Linked DNA regions of Homo sapiens: region 2 is linked to region 1. The links are contacts of gene promoters, found by promoter capture Hi-C in human tissues and cell types (Jung and others, 2019). All regions are on one chromosome and are shown on one strand. The core of a region is centred on a gene start or on the middle of the fragment in contact, and the rest is flanking DNA. Distances in the headings are between cores, read along the strand shown.

The links. Contacts are between HindIII fragments. The study calls those that stand out against the background at their distance.
Region 2: a contact is called between a fragment that was not itself captured here and the fragment with the promoter of JDP2 in region 1, in 1 of the 25 tissues and cell types used here (dorsolateral prefrontal cortex).

What each region holds. Positions count from the first base shown.
Region 1 is chr14:75,426,015-75,430,030 of GRCh38, forward strand. It overlaps JDP2 (Jun dimerization protein 2), which reads left to right and starts at 2,008. Exons shown (of 4, transcript NM_001135048.2): 1 at 2,008-2,238. It overlaps JDP2-AS1 (JDP2 antisense RNA 1), which reads right to left and starts at 1,641. Exons shown (of 2, transcript NR_184172.1): 1 at 1,456-1,641; 2 at 1-697. RefSeq lists enhancers at 777-876, 1,127-1,456, 1,477-1,536, 1,504-2,061 and silencers at 1,727-1,996, 2,247-2,426, 2,487-2,656. The HindIII fragment of the contact is 10,168 bases long and covers 1-4,016 here.
Region 2 is chr14:74,856,064-74,860,079 of GRCh38, forward strand. PROX2 (prospero homeobox 2) reads right to left here. Exons shown (of 6, transcript NM_001243007.2): 4 at 2,344-2,451; 5 at 738-932. LOC124903348 (a long non-coding RNA gene) reads left to right here and starts at 2,443. Exons shown (of 2, transcript XR_007064269.1): 1 at 2,443-2,703; 2 at 2,770-3,372. The HindIII fragment of the contact is 3,434 bases long and covers 67-3,500 here.

The DNA.
Region 1 (4,016 bases), core at 758-3,257:
AGGGGCCTAGTAGGGAGTATGTGGCGGAAGGGAGGCCTTGAAGCTGTGTTCTTATAGCGTCCTATATGAAACTGAAAAGCATCAATAGCAAATAACAGAGAAGATCTAATGGAGATTATAGAGAGGTAGAGGGGACTAAAGGCCTCCCAAGTCACCCCTTGGTGCCACCCCTGTAACATATTTAATTTGTGGGGGAAGCAAAGGCCCAGTAGGACTGCTGGTGGCCCAGCCACAGTCCAAAACAGGCCCTAGAGAGGACGCGCTCTAACCACACACCCTAATTATTAGTCCCTGAATATAGATCAGTTTAGTTTATCCAAAGCCCCAGCTGAAGACACATCAAGTACTATTGCCTCTGTTCCATGTTTTGTTCCATATAAACATCCAGACACAGGTCTCATGGGAGAAACATCATGAGGCAGTTTCACAGTCCCTGGCTTTGATCTTTACGCTGTAGTAAAGGTGTCATTGGCCTTTCTGGGGCGAAGAGTCATGCTCTTCCACAAGAGTATCAAATTACTGCTCATTTTCCAATGTATATTCTTTCAGGGCCTTGCTTTCTTCTTACCTGCCCACACCAATGCTGTGAGGGAGACTGCTGATGGCGAAGGTGAAAATGGTCAGGCAATGTCATTGGGACTTGGTCTGTCTCTCCTTCCATTAGCCCACTTCTTTTATCCAGAAAGATTTCACTGCACTGGGGAAATAAGGAGAATAAAGTCTCATGCACTCACTCACATGAGAGAGACATGCATGTTCGGGTTTGCTCAATGGCACCCATCTGTCTCAAGTCTTGTTGTTTCTTTCACTCTGAGCATCTGCACTCCAAGAAGGCATGAACTTTTTCTTTCACTTCCTTTCTTCTATGGGTGATGACCTGACATCACTCTCAGAAGGAGGCCGAAAGTCGCTGAGTATAAAAATCGTCACTCCTATCTGGCTTAGGCAGAAGGTAGGGGGCTCGATGGGTACCCAGGAGCTCTGGAGGTAGGAGATGCCATCTAGGGAACCCCGTTCTACCTGAGGGCTCTGTGTCTCTGCCTTTGTATACTGGAGGGCACCATGGATGTCGCCTTCCCTCTGGAGTCCCCTTCACCATTTCCTCTCTAGAAGGATGGAAGGTGGGAGTGGGGTTGGCTATTGAAGCTGGAACGGGGAAGAAGGCCACTTGGGGTCTGCTGAGGGCTGGGTCTGCTCACTGCTGTGTCCGGAGTGGAAAGGAGAAGCCCGCTGGAGCAGGGTACAAGCCCAAGGGTCAAACTGCGCCAGCAGTAGAGCAAGCCGCGGTCTCAGGCTGCAGCCCTAGCAGAGGTCAGGCTGGTGCAGCCAGCCGTCTCGGGGCCTAAGGGCGCTGGCGGGGGCCGGTGGGTAGGGGTAGGAGTCCCCAAATGCCTTCATCTCAGCCCATCCTTCTCCACCGAAAAATAAAGCAGGCTGGCGAGATCGCCTCCTCACCCGCTCAGTCCTGAAGTGTCCAAGGATGAAACTGTGCGGAAATTCTCCCTGTCGCTCTCAGTTTGTGGGGGAAGCGCCGGGACTGAGGTACATGGTTAACACAGGCTGTGCGTGAAGGGGCTTTTGACTTTTCCCCCGGCTCCGGCCTCTCGCGTCTCTCTCCTAGGGCTGCGGCTGCTGCTGCCTGGCGGGCACAAGCCGGGCGGCGGTGCGCGGGGGGTGCGCTTACATAACCGCTCGCCGCGTCCTGCTTTCTCGAGCGCTCCTGCACCGTGGGGTGGCGGAGCCGGGGGACTGCATGGAACCCGGGACGCCCCCGCGGGGAGAGGAGCGCGAGCGGCCGCGGGAGGAGGGCGCCCAAGGCGGCGGGGGAGGTTAAGGTCAGTGGGTGTGAAGCGCCGGCTCCACACCCCCTCCTCCCCGGTCCCCTCCTTCCCTTCCTCTCCGTCCCCCTCTGACGTCTGGAGCTGGCAGCTCGGCCGGTTCCGCATTCCCGACCCCTCCCCGCCGCCCAGGGGCCGCTATATAGCCGGGGCTGATGCAACCCGTCCCGCCGCCCGCCACAGCCTGCGGGAGGGACGCTCGGCGGCCGCGACGGGGGGCGCTGGCGGCGGCGGACGCTGCAGCGGCGGCGGGGCTGGCGCCGCGGCGGCTCCCGGGCCGGGACAGGCCTGGGCACCGGGCGGAGCTCCGCGGCCGGGCGGCAGCGGCGCGGAGCGGGCACGGCGCCTGCAGCCGGGCCCCGGCCCCGGGGGCGCCGCCTCCCCCCGCACCTTCTGCACGGTGGGTGCGAGGGCGCGCGCTGGGGGCGCCGGGACGGGCGGGGCGGGGCAGGGCGCGGCGCGGGCACCTGGGACGGCCGCCCCCGCACGGGCGGAGCGCGAGGAGCCCCAGCCCAGCCCCGCGGGGAGGCTCCCGCAGCCCAGGGACCTCGAGCTTTCCCCGCGCCGGGCGCTGCAGCCGGGCCCCTCCCGCGAGGCGCCCGGCAGCCTGAGGCTTCCTTTTGGTTCCCGCCCCGGGACGGGAGGCTCCGTCCGCTCCCTGGACAGCCGGGGTGCTCCCTCCTTCTCCCTCCCGCGCTCTCCTCCCCCGTCCGTTTGCAGGGAGGTGCTCTCCTCGGGCGGCGGGGAAGGCGGGGTGAGTGGGGAGAAAAGTGCCCGCGGAGATGGGCTGTGCGGGTGGAGGTGGAGGGTGAAGGGCCAGGGAGGTGCGGGGTTGGGGTCGGGGTTAGATTGTGGAGGGATGACAAGGACCTCCTGGCAGTGAGGAAGCGCGACTCCCGGAGGACCCGGACCCGGAGGAGAGTATTGAGAAGGGCTCGGGATTTCCATCCAATGAAGGCAGCTTCTCTCATGGCCATTGCTTCGGAGCTCTGGGCTGGGAGGGGATCTAGGGGTGGCCGGGGTCCCCTTTGGGCTCTCCTGTCTCCCACGCCAGGTTATATAAGGAGGCAAGCAGGCTCCTGTAGGTAACCAGCCTCTCCCTTGCCCAGCCCAGCTTAGAAGGCTCTCCTCTGCTCCTCCCTTCAAAGGAGGTTGTCGAGGGGTAGGGGTGCAGTGGGGGGTGGGAGAGTGTAGGGGTGGATTGGGCCTTCCACCTGGATCCCTGGACCCTGGGATGGCAGAGCCAGGCTTTGCCTGGGTCAGTAGGAGGAGCAGGGAAGATGAGGAGGCTGGGGAAGATGGGGAGGTCCTGGCTCTTTTGCAGGGATGGAGAGGCTGGTGGAAGGAGAAATCAGCCGACCCCCTTGGGTCATCTCCAGTTGCAAGATGGCGTGGCCCTTGCCCAGGGTGCTGCCCTCCCTGTTGGAATCCAGGGCATGGGGCTATGGCCCGACCACGTGTGCTCAGGGCAAATGTGCTCAGGTCTATATCTCAGAAAGGGCTTGCAGCCTGCTTAGGCGTGTGTACCCAGGCTTAAATCTTGGTGGTCTCTCCCTAGGGTCTTAATTGGAGGAGCATCAGGAATTGGGAAGCTTTGAACCATGTTTGGGTACATTTGTACCCAAACGTCCTTTAAGCCCTTGGTAGAAACTGCATTCGCGTATCATCTCCCTTCCCCCCAACCTTCCTTCCCTGAGGGTTTTAAAAAACACTTCCCATTGCTTTTACCTTTCCAGCAAATCTGGCTGCAGCTTGGATGGATAGCTTATCTTCCTTTGCAGGTTTCTAGGGGAGAGTTTAACCAGGTATCAGGTGTGAGCATGGCTCTGATTTTGTATAAACCTGAGGATCGAGGAAGAGAAGCAAAATCTATTCTCACACCTCTGGGTGGTTAAGGTTTTGCCTTGTTTAGAGCAGGGAGGATGGATTTCTCAAAGACTCTTCTGTTCCCTTCTACTTTGGCTTTGGTTCAGAGCTGCAGGCAGCTCCAGAATCTTCCTGAAGAGCTGGGTGCTGTGTGATTTGAAGGGCTGCAGGAAGTCATGGGTGTGTAGACCTCTGGCTTTTCTCCTAGGTGGGCTGCAGGAAGTCATGGGTGTGTAGACCTCTGGCTTTTCTCCTAGGTTGGCTGCAGCCACCTCCAAGGAGATGTGTTGCAAAGTGGTGACAATGCCCCCT
Region 2 (4,016 bases), core at 534-3,033, 570 kb before region 1:
CTCTTTGTGATCACAGTCAAGGGAGAAGTCAAGAAGAGGGAAGTGTAATCTGTGACCAGATATACCCGGCACCTGCAGAATCAGATGCCAGCCTAACAGCTGTCAGCTGTGCATGAGGCAACATGCATCTCTTGATTAGGAATGTGCGCCAGTGACACCTAGGCTCACCTTTCACTGACGCTTTACCTCTGAGGTGCCACCAGTGTGCCTTCATAGGGATCCCCGAGGGACTGAGCTTGAGTGTTGTTTATTGTTATTTCCAGAAAGGATTTGAGGTGACTTGCTATGGAAGGCCCACTGATACATTTTCAAGGGAAAATACAGATAAGAATCAAATCATGAAAAGCATAGAAATTGTTGAGAAAACCTAGGCCAAGACTAGGTGCCACAACTGAGCTCAGCATTCAGTCCTGAGCCTCCTGGCACTAAGGCAAAAAGGTCAGGAAGTTATGTAACTTGATAATGACAGGGTATTCAGTCTAAGATGGTGTAACACCTGGCAGCCCTCTCACTAAGCTTCAGAATGAAGACTGGCTGTTGACTCAGTTTGCTGCTTCCACCTGTTGCCCAAGTGAAGATGTTGAGGCTGTAATCTTTGTGGATGATACAGAGATTGGCCCAGGCTGCCCTGGCTCTCAGTAACTTAAGGAGACACAGAAGAGGGATCTTTCCTAAAACTCGAATCATATAGGGAAGACACTCATCAGATCTCATGGGAACCCAGTACATGGTCTTACCTCAAAGTCATTTCCCTTGTTGTAGTGCATATTGAGAGCTTGAAAAAGTTCTGAATTGCGGAGAACCACCAGCATTTTGGGATTTGTGACACCATCTGAAATTGCTTGCCGGGCAGATTTTTCCATTTGGATGTAATAAAACTCACGAAAGTTGCTGAACCACTTGATCATCTGGGAGGTAATGCAGCGGTTGAACTGTACAAACAAGAGGTCCATCCAGTCAGACATTTGCCACGAGGTGCTCAGAATTAGAACTGTCTGCTTCCAGCTCAGTATAGGGGTTCATATACGGCTTTAACCAGCATTAACAGGGGCTTCCTTTAAAAAAAGAAGCGAAGCCACCGCTATTTTCCAAGCCTATTTAGTTATACTCAGAAAAATCTAAATTAGCTACAGTGCCCATTAGAACATAACTTTTTTTTGATATGCTAGATTTATGGGGGTTGTTTTACCCATGAAAAGCTTTTTGTGGTGTTTGAGTGGGACTTAGGGGTCACGACCAGTGTGGTGCCAGATTTTGCTGCACCCAGGTGGACTGCATGGCAGGCCTGGGGCCTTCCACTTGGATAAAGGGCCAAGGGAAGGGCAAGATGTAGGTCAGGGAGCAGTTTATTAGCAACTTTGAATTGTGGAATGAATTGAAATCAAAATCAGAGGTTGCTTCAGGGATCAACCAACCAACTGAATATGAGGGAAAGAAAAGCTTGAATGATGTAGACCAAAAGTATTAACAGCCCCTAACCCAACACCCAAAGTAAAAGAGGCCCTCAGAAACCTTTTATGGGAACAGGGGAGGTCTGGTCCCAACAATTAGTTTGATTTTCCTTATTGTCACACTTCATCTGTATGTACTTTCACTCAGTTTTGAACTATAGCAATTTGAACATAAATTTGACAGTGTCTGACACTCTGTCTCTCTCTCCCTCTCTATATATATTTTTTGTTGTTTGTTTGTTTGTTTTTGTGTGTTTTTTTTTTTTTGAGATGTAGTCTCGCTTTGTCGCCCAGGCTGGAGTGCAGTGGCGTGATCTCTGTTCACTGCAACATCCACCTCCTGGGTTCAAGTGATTCTCCTGCCTCAGCCTCCGAGTAGCTGGGATTACAGGCGCACGCCACCACGCCAGCTAGTTTTTGTATTTTTAGTAGACATGGGGTTTTACCATGTTGGTCAGGCTGGTCTCGAACTCCTGACCTCAGGTCATCTGCCCACCTCGGCCTCCCAAAGTGCTGGGATTAGAGGCATGAGCCACTGTGCCTGGCCTATATTTTATTTTTCATAGTGTCCCCAGCCAAGGCAGAAAACTAGCCAAAAAGGCCACTAACTAGTGTTTCTGTTTCCCTCTACTTTTCCTGCCCATGTGTTTCTGTTTTGGGGATTATCTACAGCTCAGTAGCTTAAGAATTTAGACAGCCAGCCTTTCTAGCCTAAAGTTATTCACGGTTATTTGGGTAGAGTCTCAGCCCAGAACTGGACATTGCTTCCATCAGCAACACTAAGGGGAGCTTGAAGTGCACATATGATGACCTAGGACTTGCCTCACACCAGGCAAAACACACTGCCTCTTGGGAGTTCTGCAGAAGCTGCCATTTAGTTGAGTGACTTTACCTGAACATCAGGAAAATAAACCTTCAGGAGGTTGGAGCTGGGATATCGTGTGAAGAAAAACATTAGTTTGGCCTTCTTCAAGTGACCAGGGTTTAGACCCTCCTGGATTTATCTCAGTGTCAAGGAAAATGAACACTTTAAAATGCCAGTTTATCAATTAACTAGTGAATTCCTTGTTCCTGTGGTTTCTATTTGATTTCATTTTGTTTTTCTGATTGGAATTGTGTATTTGCTCCATTTTTCTGTCTCTGGAAACTCTGGTCAAATAAGCTGGATGACATATGTGCACAGTTAAGTCACAGAATGTAAAAATCATCTCGATGTGGAAAAGTTATGTAGCATAGATGATGTCAAATACAGGTTGGTGTATTTTGTGTGTGTGTGTGTGTGTGTGTGTGTGTGTGGTGTCTTAGATGTCAAATACAGGTTGGTGTATTGTGTGTGTGTGTGTGTGTGTGTGTGTGTGTGTGTGTGTGTGTGGTGTCCAAGTGGGATGGGAAGAGATGGCAATTCTATCCCAGATAAACCATTTCAAAACCCCAAGCAGAGATTTACTTCCCCTCTCTGCCTCAGTTTCCTCAGCTGTAAAACGAGAAGAGTAAACTAGGTGGTCCCCATTCTGGCTGTCACTCTTATCATTGCCTTCACAGTGTTGCCTTTATAACCAGCAAACATCTAAGCAGGCTGAATACCAGCTCATATTTTGCTCTTGCTCAAGAAGCTTGAATGGTTGGGTGGTACCCACTCTCCATTTGCCTGGCAGAACTATCCCTCATCTTTCAGGTCTCAGCTCAGAAGCTCCCACCTCTGTTAAACCCTTCCTTGCCAAATTAGGCCTTCCTTACCCTGGGCTATGAAGACTCTTTGTACAAACTGTTGCAGCGATGACCTTATTGGAATTTTTACTGTATGTTTGTCTCGTCTAGACTGTGAGCTCCTTGAGAGTGAGGACCTTATCTTTTCATCTTTGTGCCTAGCCCAGTGCTAGGAACATAGCAGGTGCTCAATAAATATTTGTTGTGTGAAGGAGTAAGTGAGTGAACGGTCAACCTTAATCCATACACATATATGGAAATTAGATTCCAAACTATACCTCACTCTGGGAACAGACAGATTCCTTCCCCTTTAACAAGAGTCGGAGAATTGTGATGTGACTGCCTAGCACTAGGGCAGGACGGAAATGAAAAAAAGATTTACACAAATACGCTTTGCATTTTTAGGGACAGTCCTTAGGCTGGGTGAGAAGCATTACACAGAGTAACCTGGGATCTCAGATCCGAGAGCTGTAGCTTAAGACAGTGAAGACTTCCACATAGGATGAATCTGTTTAACCAAAAGAAACCAGACCAACTGACTATGGTTATAGGTGGCCCAGGCACCTAGTTGCTGCACAGGAGATCCCTCCCTGCTGCCCCATCAGCCCCTACTTACCCTTCCTACAGATCCACAAATGCTGTGGAGAGAATCCTGGATTGGGATTCCAAAGACCCAGTTTCAGACACTGATTTTGCCATCTATTAGCTGTGTGACCTTGGGCAAGCCACTTAACTGCTCTGAGCCTCATTGCTAAGATGTGGAGTATAGTGGTTAAAGCTTGTACTTGGCCATCAGATCCCGGGTTTAAATCCTGGTTGCTCATTAGTGTGTCTTGGGACTTTGGACGAGTTAGCTCC